Regions from separate parts of the Homo sapiens genome. Here region 2 is linked to region 1. The links are contacts of gene promoters, found by promoter capture Hi-C in blood cells and fetal thymus (Javierre and others, 2016). All regions are on one chromosome and are shown on one strand. Each heading gives the region's core, a stretch centred on a gene start or on the middle of the fragment in contact. The rest is flanking DNA. Distances are from core to core; before and after follow the strand shown. Region 1 holds the start of LEMD1-AS1 (LEMD1 antisense RNA 1). Region 2 overlaps CDK18 (cyclin dependent kinase 18).

Region 1 (6,515 bases), core at 2,879-5,378:
TGGTGCATGCCTGTAGCCTCAGCTACTTGGGTGACTGAGGTGGGAGGATCGTTGAACCCTGGAGGTCGAGGATATAGTGAGCCATGGTTTCGATACTACACTCCAGCCTGGGTGACAAAGTGAGACCCTGTCTCAAAAAAACAAAACAACAACAACAAAAAACCCCAAAACAAACAAATAAATGAAAAAACACTTTTGTTTTTTTCCTATCTCTAATAGATCCATATATAGGAGGAGTCTCTAAAACTCAGGCCAGAGGACCAATGAGTTAAGCCTATCAGGAACCTAAGTGCAGTGGGGACGTGTTCCCTCTTGGAGAAAAACTTGTCTTAAAAGAAGAGACTCAAGGCATACAAGTTTGGTCCCAGGCAATGTGTCACCATCTATTCAACAGTCGATTAGCACCTCTTGTTCCCTTGCAATAAAATGACAAATAAAACCAGCCAGGCACAGTGACTCACATCTGTAATCCTAGCGCTTTGGTAGGCAGAGGTGGGAGGATCACTTGAGGCTGGGAGTTGAAGACCAACCTAAGCAACATAGCAAGACTGTCTCTACGAAAAAAATAAAGAAGAAGAAGAAAAGAAAAATTAGCTACTCAGGAGGCTGAGCCCAGAGGATCACTTGGGCCCAGGATTTCAAGGAGGCTGCAGTGAGCTATTATTGTGCCACTGCACTCCCCCTGGGTGACAGAGCAAGACCCTGTCTCTAAAAAAAAATTTTTTTAATCAGTATAGGATATAGTTCCTGCTCTTAAGGAACACACAGTCTGACAGGAGAGATGGAAAAGTCAACAGATAGTACGGTGTTAAGTGACATCCTTTTGATGATGGCATAGGGTACCCTGGAAGCACAAAAGAGCAACCTTCTCCTATATTGGGAATAGACAGGGGTAGCTTCCTAGAAAAAGTGGTATCACAGCTGAAGCCAGAAGGATGAGTAGGACTCAGTCCAAATAAGGGAAAAGTGGGCGAGGCTAAAGGAAAAGTCTGCCAGGCGAGGGAGCAGTATTTACAAAGACTAGTGTGTGAGAGACTGCATGGCAGGTTTAGGAAGCCACAAGAGAGTGAAGCGGGTGGGGAGAGATGCGGCTGGAAAAGAAGGTGGGATTCAGATCATAGAGGGTCTTGGGACCATAGGAAGGAAAATATGGTCTATGTTAAAGTTTGAACTTTAATGGAAGCCAATGCATAAGAAAAGTAACTCTTCTAAGGACTAACAGTGTCTGCCTCCCTGAATGTCTTCCGTGTCAGTTGCCACAGCCCCCTGAATGAGAGCTGGAGAGACAGGCTTCTAAGGAGGGGCCAAACCAAGGAGCTGTGTGCTGAATCCCTTGAGGGACTTGGGACAGGGGAGAGGCAGGTCAGTTTGCAGTGTATTGGCAGCAACAGATGTGGGCAGCCCAATGTGGGTGCCTTTGATACGGGCAGTGAATGGGGCAATGCTACTGGAGCAAAAGCAGCAGAGAAGGAATAATGAGGTGCTGGCTGGTGGCTGAGATAGCTTTGTGGGGCTCCCAGGGAGAACAGAATTGTGGCTGCAATTGCCCAGTGCAAATAGATAGGACAGGGGAATCGGGGGTGAAGAGGAACAGTTAAAACCTCTCTGCTTAGAAAACTCTAAGAATGCACTTGCCCTGTTTTTTGAGTATTTGTGATGTGACCCAAGTGTTTTATGATTCTTTTTTTTTTTTTTTTTTGAAACAGAGTCTCACTCTGTCACCCAGGCTGGAGTGCAGTGGCACGATCTCAGCTCACTGCAACCTCCGCCTCCCAGGTTCAAGTGATTCTCCTGCCTCAGCCTCCCAAGTAGCTGGGATTACAGGAACGCACCACCGCACCCAGCTGATTTTTGTATTTTTAGTAGAGATATGGTTTCTCCATGTTGCCCTGGCTGGTCTTGAACTCTTGACCTCAGGTGATCCACCTGCCTCGGCCTTCCAAAGTGCTGGGATTACAGGTGTGAGCCACTGCACCCAGTTCATGATCTTCTTTTTAAGGCTCACCTTTCCCTGGTAATTTGGGGAAAATAGGTCCAGGGAGTGGAGGCTGACTGACATCCCAGGATCACTGCCATCAAGCTGACCTCCGCAGAGAGCTGATGCAGGCCAGGCCAATTCTCCCACTGCTGCCCTGTCCCTACATTCTCCACAATACAGTGACACAGGCTGTGTAACAGGCTTTTCTGACATTTTAGATGGAAGGGAAAATGTATATGAAATTGAAATGTGGGGAGGGAAGAACCTTAACACCAAACGCTAAATGAATCATTCCCAGAATCCTAGGAAAATGAAAAGTGCTAACCCCATTAAAAGTGCATTGAAGTGGCTAGCTTTGCTTTCTGCTTCAGGATTCATCGTTTTCCAAGGGCCCCACCTTTAATCCTTCAGAGTGATTCTCCACCCTGAGACCCGCTTACAGGGCACAGTTATACCTCCCTCCCAGTGACTCACAATGATTCAGACGTAGTGCTGGTCTCAGACACAATCCTGCCTGAATCTATATAAAGAAAGAGAAAAATCTCCCTCACTCCACAACAGCATACTATGCCAAGATTTCTCCTGCTTCCAACGTGCAGAGTGTATTTGTTTGTTTTCAAATCTTATGCTTTGTTCTGTTTCTGCAGTTTCTAGAGCACAGCTGGGGACCTGGTACGTAAAAAACCGGCCTTACCTCAGTGCCTTCTCCAACAGCAGAGTCATTGACCCACCCCTATCCCAGCTATACAAGGACCCATGATCTTGAGATTTTCTTGACCTTGGGCCAAATCAAATTCCAAGGCAGGGCTCTAGTCTCAGCAATAGGAAGAGAATTAGTCTAGAGACTGATTTCTTCTTGTCAAGAGCAAACTCCTTGCCAGCGAGGTGTTTTATTTTTTCAATTTCAATGACTCGTCTGCCTCCCCTACAAATCTTGGAGCTCCTTGTGTCGAGGACTGTATCTTAATCATCTCTGGATCTCCTCTCGAAGTGATGTCTGTGCTACCTCCAGAAAGAGCCCATTTCCATTTTGAGCAGTTTCCAACTCAAATAGACATTTGAAACCACAAAACCAATACCCCAGATTTTGCTTCCTGTTTATCCCTGTGATGAGAAGTCCCTAAAATGAGCAAACTGCTGTTGAAAGGCATTCCCAATCAACCTCATTATGCAGTGTTTAGCCTTCTAACACACTGTCATTCCCACGGCATCCAAAGTCCTCATTCCTATAAATGTCACTATTTACAGCAGGGTCAATCCTGCCACCCAGCAAAGGTGTTCTCCATCCCATGGCCAAACAATGAAGTGGAGCCCTGGCTGGAGAAACAGGATTGAGCTAATTGCATGTCACACAGACACACTGGATTTCACAGGCTTGTGTTCTACAGATGGGGCGATGAGGCCAATTCTATTGCATGCATGCTGTTTAAATCTCTACCCAGTCAATATTCAGGGTGGCAGATGGAAGAAATTCTTAAAGGCTCTATTTCTGTTCTTCGACATTCAAAGAAATACTGTGCTACCACCTCTTAAAAATAATTGGTTAAGTACCAAGTTATTTTCATTGCCACAGTCATAAATAAAGAAGTGCTAGACCACAATGTTTATATCTATAGTAGTTGATAATCTTACATGCAAGAAAAATGATTGTTGATGTTTAGGAGGTTGTTTTTCTTGCTTTTTTTCCTCCCTTCCTTTCCTCCCCTACCCCTACCTCCCAGCCAAGAAAAGTCTTGTTGATTAGAGTAACAAGAAGGGGCTGATTTGGAAGTAAAATTAAACTTGACTCTTTCCTGAAGCAAGAACGTAATCTCAAGACTAAAATAAGAAAGTGCCTAACCAACTTGGCATTTTATTCTGAGGAAGATTCCCGATAGAAACTTGGATGGAAGAAAATGAAAGGGAAGCCAATTAGCCTGTGTTAAGCAATGCTAACTTTTAACAAGCTTGCTCAAGAAGAAATGAACCTGTTAAGAGGGTCATCCAGGGCTTCCTTGCCGCCTCGGTGCACAGCTCAATCATGCTTCCTTCTTGTTCATTTTGACAAAGCAGGTGAGTGATGAGCAGGAAAAAATTATGAGGAGGTGTTGGAGCAACTCGCTAATCAGCACTGCTACAAGATCGCCAGCATTTACAGGACCGCATTCACTGAGAAATGATGGCTGCTATGAATGTTCTCGTTTGTGGGCGTCACCTAAACACAACCCTGCCTAATGAATCAATCTCTGGAGAGCCAGAGGGGGCTATTCTAGGTACTGCAGATGTGGATGAGGACAGCTCTCCTCATTTCCTGGCAACAGGAGACTGGTGTGACAACTCTAATTCCTGGAGAGCCATTGGTAAAATCCTCCTTGGGTTCAAGAGTTAGCTAAAAATATGTGGAGGGGAAAGGATGAGTTTGTCCTTTTTTTTTTTTTTTTTTTTTTTTTTTTTTAGTTTATTGCTACTGGGTTTTTTTAAATTTGTCTCTTGAAGGAGAATGGATTATTAATGTTCATTACTGTTCTGATTAGGAGGCAGCCTTTTTCCCTTCCCAGATTAATGTTGGGCAACCCTTCAAATTGGCAGAGAGAAGGGTAACTCCACAACCTGTATGAACAGGGATGGCTTTGCTGCTGTGAAGAACATGTTGCTCTCACTTGCATTACTAGAAAAGAAAGGTGAGATCTGGTCTAAGAAGGGCTGAGGCAGAAATTTAAAAATAAATATGCATTAATTCACTCCGAGAAAAGTAACAGGCAAGGCAAGGGTTAAAAAGAAAAGAAGCAAGTTTTCCTCTGCTTAGCAGCTCACTTCAAGGACAGTTATAAGATAAGGCTGTCCGAAAAGCCAAGGCCAAAGGAATGGGCTCCAGACACCCACTCCTTCCTCCAGAGCAAGGTTGAAAGGAAAAAAAAGAAAGACAAATTCCTTTACTGTTACTCCTTTCCCTGGCTTCTTAAGCATAACTATGTTTTACAAATGTCTGTATTTAGCTAGTTCTTGTTTTTCTTTTGTCTCAGCTACAAGGCCACCAGCTATGCAAGGCCACAAGTTATGCACTATATGGTTAACTGCCTTTGTTTTGCTTTTGTAAGCCCGCTTATAAAAACCCCGCTCTGTCTTTGTTCAATGCTCAGCTTTTTGGATGTGAATCCACTGAGCCGGTGCATATCTTAAAATAAATATCCTCCTGTTCTGCCATATCGGTCTCTCCATTCCTCAGTTTACCTCAACGGGGCAACGTTAGGGAGAGTGTCCTAAGCAGAAGATCCAGGATCCAATTCTACCTCTGCCCTGGCAGGCTCCCGTGGGGCCTCAGCTTCCTCATCTGTAAAATGAGCACTAGAATGATCTGAGCCAGAAACTATGCAATGGGGAAGCTTAAAGACATTACGTTAAGTGAAATAAGCCAGTCAGAAAAGGACAAATACTGTATGATTCCATTTACATGAGCTACCTGGAGTAGTCGGATTCACAGAGATAGAAAGCAGAATGGTGTTGCCGGAGCTGGAGACTGTGGGGAATGGGGAGTTACTGTTTAATGGGTACAGAATATCCATTTTGGAGAATGAAAAAAGTTCTAAGATGGATGGTGGTGATGGCTGCACAGCAGCATGTATGTGCTTAGTGCCACTGAACTGTACCCTTAAAAATGGTTACAATGGTAAATTTTGTTATGTATATTTTACCACTATTTTTTTGAGACGGAGTTTCCCTCTTGTTGCCCAGGCTGGAGTGCAATGGTGTGATCTCGGCTCACCGCAACCTCCGCTTCCCAGGTTCAAGTGATTCTCCTGCCTCAGCCTCCTGAGTAGCTGGGATTACAGGCATGCACCACCATGCCCGGCTAATTTTGTATTTTTAATAGAGATGGGGTTTCTCCATGTTGGCCAGGCTGGTCTCAAACTCCCGACCTCAGGTGATCCGCCTGCCTCAGCCTCCCAAAGTGCTGGGATTATAGGCGTGAGCCACTGTGCCTGGCCTTTCACAATATATATTATAAAATAAACTAAGCAACTATCCACAACATTCACCCAAAGTATCAGGAGTCTCAAATTCAAGCACCCATGGGGGTCAGGCCATTTGTATGAGTGAGCCCACGGTCTTGCCTAGCGTACAGAGGAGGTAGTAGCTCCCAGCCCAGCCAAACCATCCATGCAGGAATGTGATCAGACTTTTCAAGAGGAAGGGAATATTCTGGATATTTATGTGAAATGTCTTAATTATTTAAATTGGCAACTAATTCAAAATTTTAAAAAGCAACAAACTGTGGGCAAACAAAATACATCTGCAGGTGAGATTCTGTTTTCTGCCTCTCTGTAGGTAACCAGTCTGTAGCATCTACTTTTTTTTCTTCTTTGTTTGCCAGCATTCCCACCCCCACATATCTCCCTTAATAACAGGTTCTGGCCAAGACAAACTATCTGGATAAGTCCATTGACCTTCTACATTGTGTACCTATGGGAGCCCAGCCAGAATATGCCAGCATAGGCAGGGTACACCCACCTATAGGCAGGTGCAATGGCATCAACACTGCCATCATTCTAGCAGAGCC
Region 2 (6,515 bases), core at 377-2,876, 150 kb before region 1:
GAAACGGCGCTTAAAGTTCTTCATCTTGTTCATGATCATGAGGGACTGGGCAGCCGGGTCCTGAGATGGGAAGTGTGAGAAGAGCAGTTGAAAAGAACAAGGCAACCAGTCCAGGTCTCCACCCACTGGGAATTCAGCTCTCTCATCAAGCTCTGTCGCCCTGTATGCCACCATCACTGGGAGCCAGGGTTGTGTCTTCTGCAAAGTTTGACCCCTCTGAGGGTGGGTGTTCACCCTCTTCTTCCCAGTCACCTTCTTCCTCCCAGTGACCCTCAGCACTGCCTCCACTGCCCACCGCCCGCCCCGCCACGCCCTGTGCAGTTCTCTATGGACCACCTAGTCCAGCAAAGTATTGGTCATAATAGCAGGCATGATGTGCAAAGAGGATCCTGAAGGCCCCCCAGACCTAAGCCCTTTAGCTGCTGGAGGTCTAGAGAGTTCTGGGGGAAGGGCTGGGGTGGCAGGGAGGGTGCCAGAACCAGGCAGTCCTTGGACCAGCAGAAATTTACCAACTTGTGTCCAAGGGCCTGAATGTGTCAACAGCCAATAAATCTTACTGACCAAGGCCCGTAAACTGAATGTCAGCTTGGCCAACACCCTTGGGACATGATTGGGTCCAAACCTCATTTCACCTCTGATACTGACACCTGAAGGTCTCTGCTCTGGCATGCCCCAGGAGGCAAGAGGGGAAAAAGAGGAGGAAGGGAAGAGTGCATCAGAGCTGGCCAGCTGCACCTTCTCTCCAGCTGAAATACAGGAGGTCAGGAGCAGTGGAAGGTCTCAGGGGAAACACGGAAGCTTGCCATTAATAGAGTCGAGCCCTAGGGAAGATGAGGCTTGATCCCTGCAGGCCTCTTCCCATGCCAGAGCCCTCCAAGCAGGCAGGTATCCCCTACCGAGAACACCATGGAGGAGCGGGGTAAGCTGCTCTGCCCACCCCCACGGTCCTGTCCCCAACCATGAAAGCTTTCTTCTTCAGGCTACCCAGCTCCTCGTGCCCTCTGAATTAGAGGATGCCCTGCTGGCCACCCAATGAGACCCATGCAACTGCTTCTTCCTGCAGACCCTCCCTTCTCCCTCCTGCCCTGAAAACCCAGAGCAGCGCTGTCTCACCTCCCCTCCACTTCCCTTCATGGTTTCCTACACGCTCAGTGCAGCCCCCCTCTCATCCTGCTCTGCACACACTGCCCTTGAGGCCTCACAAGGGCTTCCACCCATGCTGGCAAGAAGGCACCAGGGGGTGAGCCCTATGATGGGCCGCCCTGCACCCGCTCCCAGCTGTTACCCATGCACCAGCACCAGGCACAGCCCACTCCTGGAGGATGCTCTCAGCCCTGCGACTGGCCAGCACCTAGTTGCCAAGGCGACCAGGCCCTTCCCGAATCCTCCTGGTTTAAGGGATTATGGGTCAGTAACATGTTGGCTTTGCTTAATGATCACATCCTTCTGTCCTCAGCCAGCCTGGAAAGGGTCCTCTGTCTGGCAGCGCATGCTCCTGGCTGCCCCCAAACACAGCTCAGTGGTGGCCCTCCAGCTGCCCTGATCCTCATGGCTGGGTATGAACAAGCTCTCCTTCATTCCTTTAGCGGGCTGGCACCTTTCAGAGTGGAGGCCTCGGGTCTGCAGTGCTAGGCAGGCCCATCTCTGTCAGTGGGCCCTGAAGTCTCACTCAGTTCCACTGAACAAATGAACTGGCCGGGCATGGTGGCTCATGCCTGTAATCCCAGCACTTTGGGAGGCTGAGGCAGGTGCATTACTTGAGGTCAGGAGTTTGAGACCAGCCTGGCCAACATGGCGAAACCCTGTCTCTACTAAAAATACAAAAAAATTAGCTGGGCATGGTGGTGTGCACCTGTGATCCCAGTTACTTGGGAGGCTGAAGCAGGAGGATTGCTTGAACCCTGGAGGCGGAGGTTGCAGTGAGTGGAGATTGCGCCATTGCACTCCTGCCTGGGCGACAGAGCAAGACTCTGTCTTAAAAAACAAACAAACCAAAAAACTGAGCACCTACTATGCGCCAGCATTGTGCCAGGCATGAGGGTTTCAGAGGCAAGTAAAGGGTGGTCCCCATTCTCAAGAAACTCAGGGGCTGGTGATGCCTCCTTTGATGAGAAGGTAGCTGAAAGCGCTTCCTCTGGCTTCCTTGGCAGAGCCCACCAGCCTTGGACTTTCCTGACTCCCCATCCCTAAACTCCTTCCTGTCAGTCATCTTCAGCCGCTCCTCCGTGGCTCTGTGCAATGTCTCAGGCCTGCTGTCTGCAGGACTCTTGCAGACAGGAAGCTTCCAGAGGGCAGCCACCATGCCTCACACTTGTGTATAGCATTCAGGCCACAGAGATCTAATCTGGAGGCTTCATGATGGTGGCAGGGGGTGTGGGTCCCAGTGACAAGAGGACCCAGACACACCTACCTGGTGACTCCCATTTCCGAGCAAGATAGGAGAGTGGAGATGGCTCCTTGTAAAGATCAATTATTTTCTTTTTTCCTTTTTTCTTTTTTTTTTTTTTGAGATAGAGTCGTGCTCTATCACCCAAGCTGGAGTGCAGTGGCGTGATCTTGGCTCACTGCAACCTCCACCTTCCGGGCTCAAGCGATTCTCATGCCTCAGCCTCCTGAGTAGCTGGGATTACAGGCCCGCGCCACCACACCCGGCTAATTTTTGTGTTTTCAGTAGAGACAGGATTTCGCCATGTTGGCCAGGCTGGTCTCGAACTCCTGACCTCAAGTGATCTGCCCCTCCTCGGCCTCCCAAAGTGCTGGGATTACAGGCATGAGCCACAGCACTCAGCCAATTATTTTCAAAGATAGCTGAACATCAGAATCACCAGGGAGCATTGTAAAAAAATTCAGATTCCTAGGTCTCACCCTGAGATTCTGGAACTGAGGTTCTGAGAATGGTGCCTGGGAAAATGCATTTGAAAAAACATCTCCAATGATGTACACCTGGAGCGGTGACCAGGAAAACATCTAAGGTCCAGGTCAGGGACAATTATCTGCCCAGGCTTCCAGGCCACCCTCCTGTGCTGAGACGGGGGATCCTCAGAGCAGGGAAGGGAAGCAGGAGGCCCCCCACAGGAGAGGAAGTCTCTCTGTCCTGGAAGCCAGTGCATCTCCACCACACCAACTGATGTCCCCAATGTCCCCGTGCTTTGTCATGGTTGTTCTCTGGGGGTGGGGAGAGGCAGGCACTTGGCTCCCTGAGGTCTGAGCTCTGCCAGGAGGGAGACCAGCCACACCCCTTTCTAAAAACAGGGCTTCCCCATAAAACCGTCCTGCAGTCTGGGATTTATGGGATGGCATGTTGGATTTGCGGCTCAGGAATCTACAAGTAGCAACCATAAATCTCACACCCTTGCTCTTGCTTGTAGGGTGAGGGGAGGGGAGCTCATTAAAAGCCTCCGGGAAGGAGGCCCCCCATTTCTGCAAGACAAAAGAGATTCAGCCCTGAGTCACACCTGCTCTCCCTAAGGTTCAGTGAGGAGCAAGGAGCCACCAGCCTGTGCCTGGGGTGGGGAGGACAGTGGGGCTGGGAGCTGGAGGAAGGGTGAGGCCAGAGGCAGCTGACTGGAGCAGGAATGTGGGGCCAAGCAGTGCAGGCGATGGGGACCAGCTGTTCTCCACCCGCAGGACAGGAGCCTGAGAGGAAGTGGCTGTCACAGCAGCAGAAGGGATGGGGGTCAGATGTAGGATGGATTTCCTGATGGAAGGATGGAGGTCAGATGTAGGATGGACTTCCTGATGGAAGGATGGAGGTCAGATGTAGGGTGGACTTCCTGATGGTGACAGGGGAGCAGGCGGTGGGGGTGGTGACCACAGCAGAGTGGATGTCTCTCTCTGCTGGGGACAACCAGGGCATTGAACCCAGCAGGGTCTTGGGTGTGACAGGGCAGACTGGGCAGTGAATAGTCTGTTGTTCCCTAGGTCAAGACACAAGATGCCTCTGTCATTTTTCCCTTGGGAGAGTCAGCTCCTCAGATTTGGGGGTCGAGGGGGAAGGGAGACAGGAAAAAGGCCTGTCACCTTAGTGCTATCTACCCCTCACCCCCAAGTGGGGACAGAAGGGCTCAGTATGACCAGCCTGAGGCCAGCCCGGGGCCAGGCACAGCACAGCCTTTGTCCCCAGACCAAGGAGCCATCTGGGGCTGTCCCCGTGCAATTGGTGCCAGGGGAAGAGGGCGATGAGTGTCCAGGGATACTGGCCCGGCAGTGGGGGGTGGAGGAAGTTGAAGGAGCAGAGTCCCACTGAGGAGCTGCAGGGTGGGCAGGCAGACCCCAGCCAACCTCCCCTCCCACCTCCCTGCCCAGGTAAGTCATAAAGCTCAGCCAGCTCCAGTTGCTTCTTCCCAGGGACACAGCAGCCGGCCCAGAACCTCCTGCTGGTGCCAGAGCCATGGGTGGCACAGAAGGAGGAAGGAGGAGCCAGGCTGGGAAGAAAGCCAGCACTTGCCAGAGGCCACTGTGCCCCCAGTGAGCAGGGCTGGCCTCCCAGAATGTTAGCAGGGGAAGACGCTCACACAGCCTCCATCCCCATCCCTTGCCCAGTGAAGATGCTGAACATCCAAGAGGGGAAATGGCTTGCCCAGAATCACGCAGCAATTTCCTGGTTGTTGCCAAGTGCACAAACGTGACCATATTGCTCCTTTCTTCTCCTACCTGGAGCCCTCCCCGCCCTTGCCCCTTCCCTGTGGCCCAGGCTTGACTGTTTTCTCCTACTCTGAACTGCGTGCCAAACAAACTCAGTTTCAAACTTTGGTGCTACCACTAGCAGGCTATGGAATCGCAATGACGTGATAAAACCCCTCTCACCCCTGGCTCCATTCATTCATTCAACAATTATTGAACACCTGCTGCATGCCAGGCACTGTTGTAGACCCTGAGAATCCACAGATGAATGAAACAGACATTAATTCCTTTCCTAATACTTTCTAACAGGGGTAGGGGGGTGCGGACAATAGACAGAATGAATACACAGTATGATGGATGGTGACAAGTGCAATGATGGGAATTCATGCAGGGAAGAGGGAAGGTGTGGGAAGTGCAGTTGCAAGTTTAAGTAGGGTGGTCAAGAAGGCCTCCCCAAGAAGCAGGTGACATCTCAGGAGAAATCCAGAGTAGGTGTAAGGTGAGGGGGTCAGTCATGCAGGGTCTGGGAGAAGCAGGTCAACAAGGGAACAGCAGGGGCAAAGGTCCTGAGGCAGAAGTAAGTCTGGTTCACTGCAGGACAATGATGTGGCTGGAGAAGATGCTGGATGGGAGTGCGGAGCAGCTGTGTTGGGCCTCGAGGGGTAAGGAGGGTTTGAACGGATGAGTGACATGATCACACTGAGGCTTTAACACGCTGCTGTGTTGAGAACAGACAAGGGGAGCAAGGGGAGAGCAGGGAGCCCGGGCAGGAGGCTGCTGCTGAGGCCCAGGGGAGAGAGCTTGATGGTGGCTGGGACCAGCGGGGGGCAGTGGAGATGGTGAGAAGTGGCTGGATTTGGGCTATATTTTGAAGGTGGAGGCAAAGAGCTCTGCAGATGGATTGTATGTTGTGGGTGAGAAAAGAGTCAAGCATGACTCTGCAGCAGGGTTTTCGCCAAGCAGCCGGAGTGGAGAGATAGAACAGTCACTGGAGGAGACAAGGCATTCTGGGAGTAGTGGTTTCAGTGGGAAGACCAGGAGTTGGATGTTGGGCAGGTGACATTTTCAACGTACAGTGGTATCTGAGCAAACATGCTGGGTGAGCCAACACAACACACCACTGGCACAGGGAAGATGTCCAGCAAAGCTTGGCTCTCCTCTCTCAAGCTACTGCCCAGACAAAAAGAGTCCTCATATAAACTTCATCAAACATCCCTGCAGACTTCCTTATTGCAAGGTGCTTTTGGATCCCAGGATGGAAGAGGGCCAGGAGACAGGGAGCAGGATCATCTCTTGGCAGATGTGAGGGGGAGAAGGGCCAGGGAGGCAGGGTCCCCCCTACTTAGACAACTGCAGGGCCACGCAGGGTGGGGCCCGTGCAAGGCAGGGAACCCCGGCTACTGGCAGACAAGCCCCATCTTCTCTCTTAGGAGGAAAGAAAGCTCCACAGAGCAGGCCAGGCCAGCCCCAGGGCCCCAGTGTCCAGACAGGGCAGATTCCCAGCCCACTGACTGCTGGGACAACCTGTGCCAGGCCACAGACCTAATACCTGCCTTGGGGCTGGACCCCTGAGAGACCTTGACCTGGAGACCATGGAGGTGGAGAAGGAGGTTGACAGAGCATCCCAGGAATCTGGGATGCTGTAGACTGGAGGGCGGGAAAGTCAGCTTCACTTCTCAAGCTCCTGGGGCCAGGACTGGAGTCTTCTCTCAGCAAACCCCTTCAAGAAGCCTCTTTGCCTTCCTCTTGAACAAAGCCCCGATTCCCCAGCCTGCACCCAAAGGCCCTTCAAGATCTGGGGCCCCTTCGTCTCTGGCTTTGCCCCTCTTCATTGCCCCTGCATGCTGTACAAGTCTCTGGGGCCTTCAGGAGCTTCCTGGAACTCACTCCAC

Evidence for each region. Contacts are between HindIII fragments. The CHiCAGO score rates a contact against its expected background, and 5 or more counts as called.
Region 2: a contact is called between a fragment that was not itself captured here and the fragment with the promoter of LEMD1-AS1 in region 1, in 2 of 17 cell types (endothelial precursors and naive B cells). The highest score is 5.9, in endothelial precursors.

Annotation. Positions count from the first base shown.
Region 1 is chr1:205,370,865-205,377,379 of GRCh38, reverse strand. LEMD1-AS1 (LEMD1 antisense RNA 1) reads right to left here and starts at 4,128. Exons shown (of 4, transcript NR_038425.1): 1 at 3,946-4,128. It overlaps LOC105371698 (a long non-coding RNA gene), which reads left to right. Exons shown (of 3, transcript XR_922462.2): 3 at 220-470. RefSeq lists silencers at 865-1,159, 4,705-4,999. The HindIII fragment of the contact is 1,416 bases long and covers 3,927-5,342 here.
Region 2 is chr1:205,516,692-205,523,206 of GRCh38, reverse strand. CDK18 (cyclin dependent kinase 18) reads right to left here. Exons shown (of 16, transcript NM_212502.3): 2 at 1-60. The coding sequence starts at 39. Among named protein-coding and RNA genes, the nearest start is that of CDK18, 15 kb to the right of the region's middle. RefSeq lists enhancers at 956-1,781, 4,997-5,696. The HindIII fragment of the contact is 1,315 bases long and covers 969-2,283 here.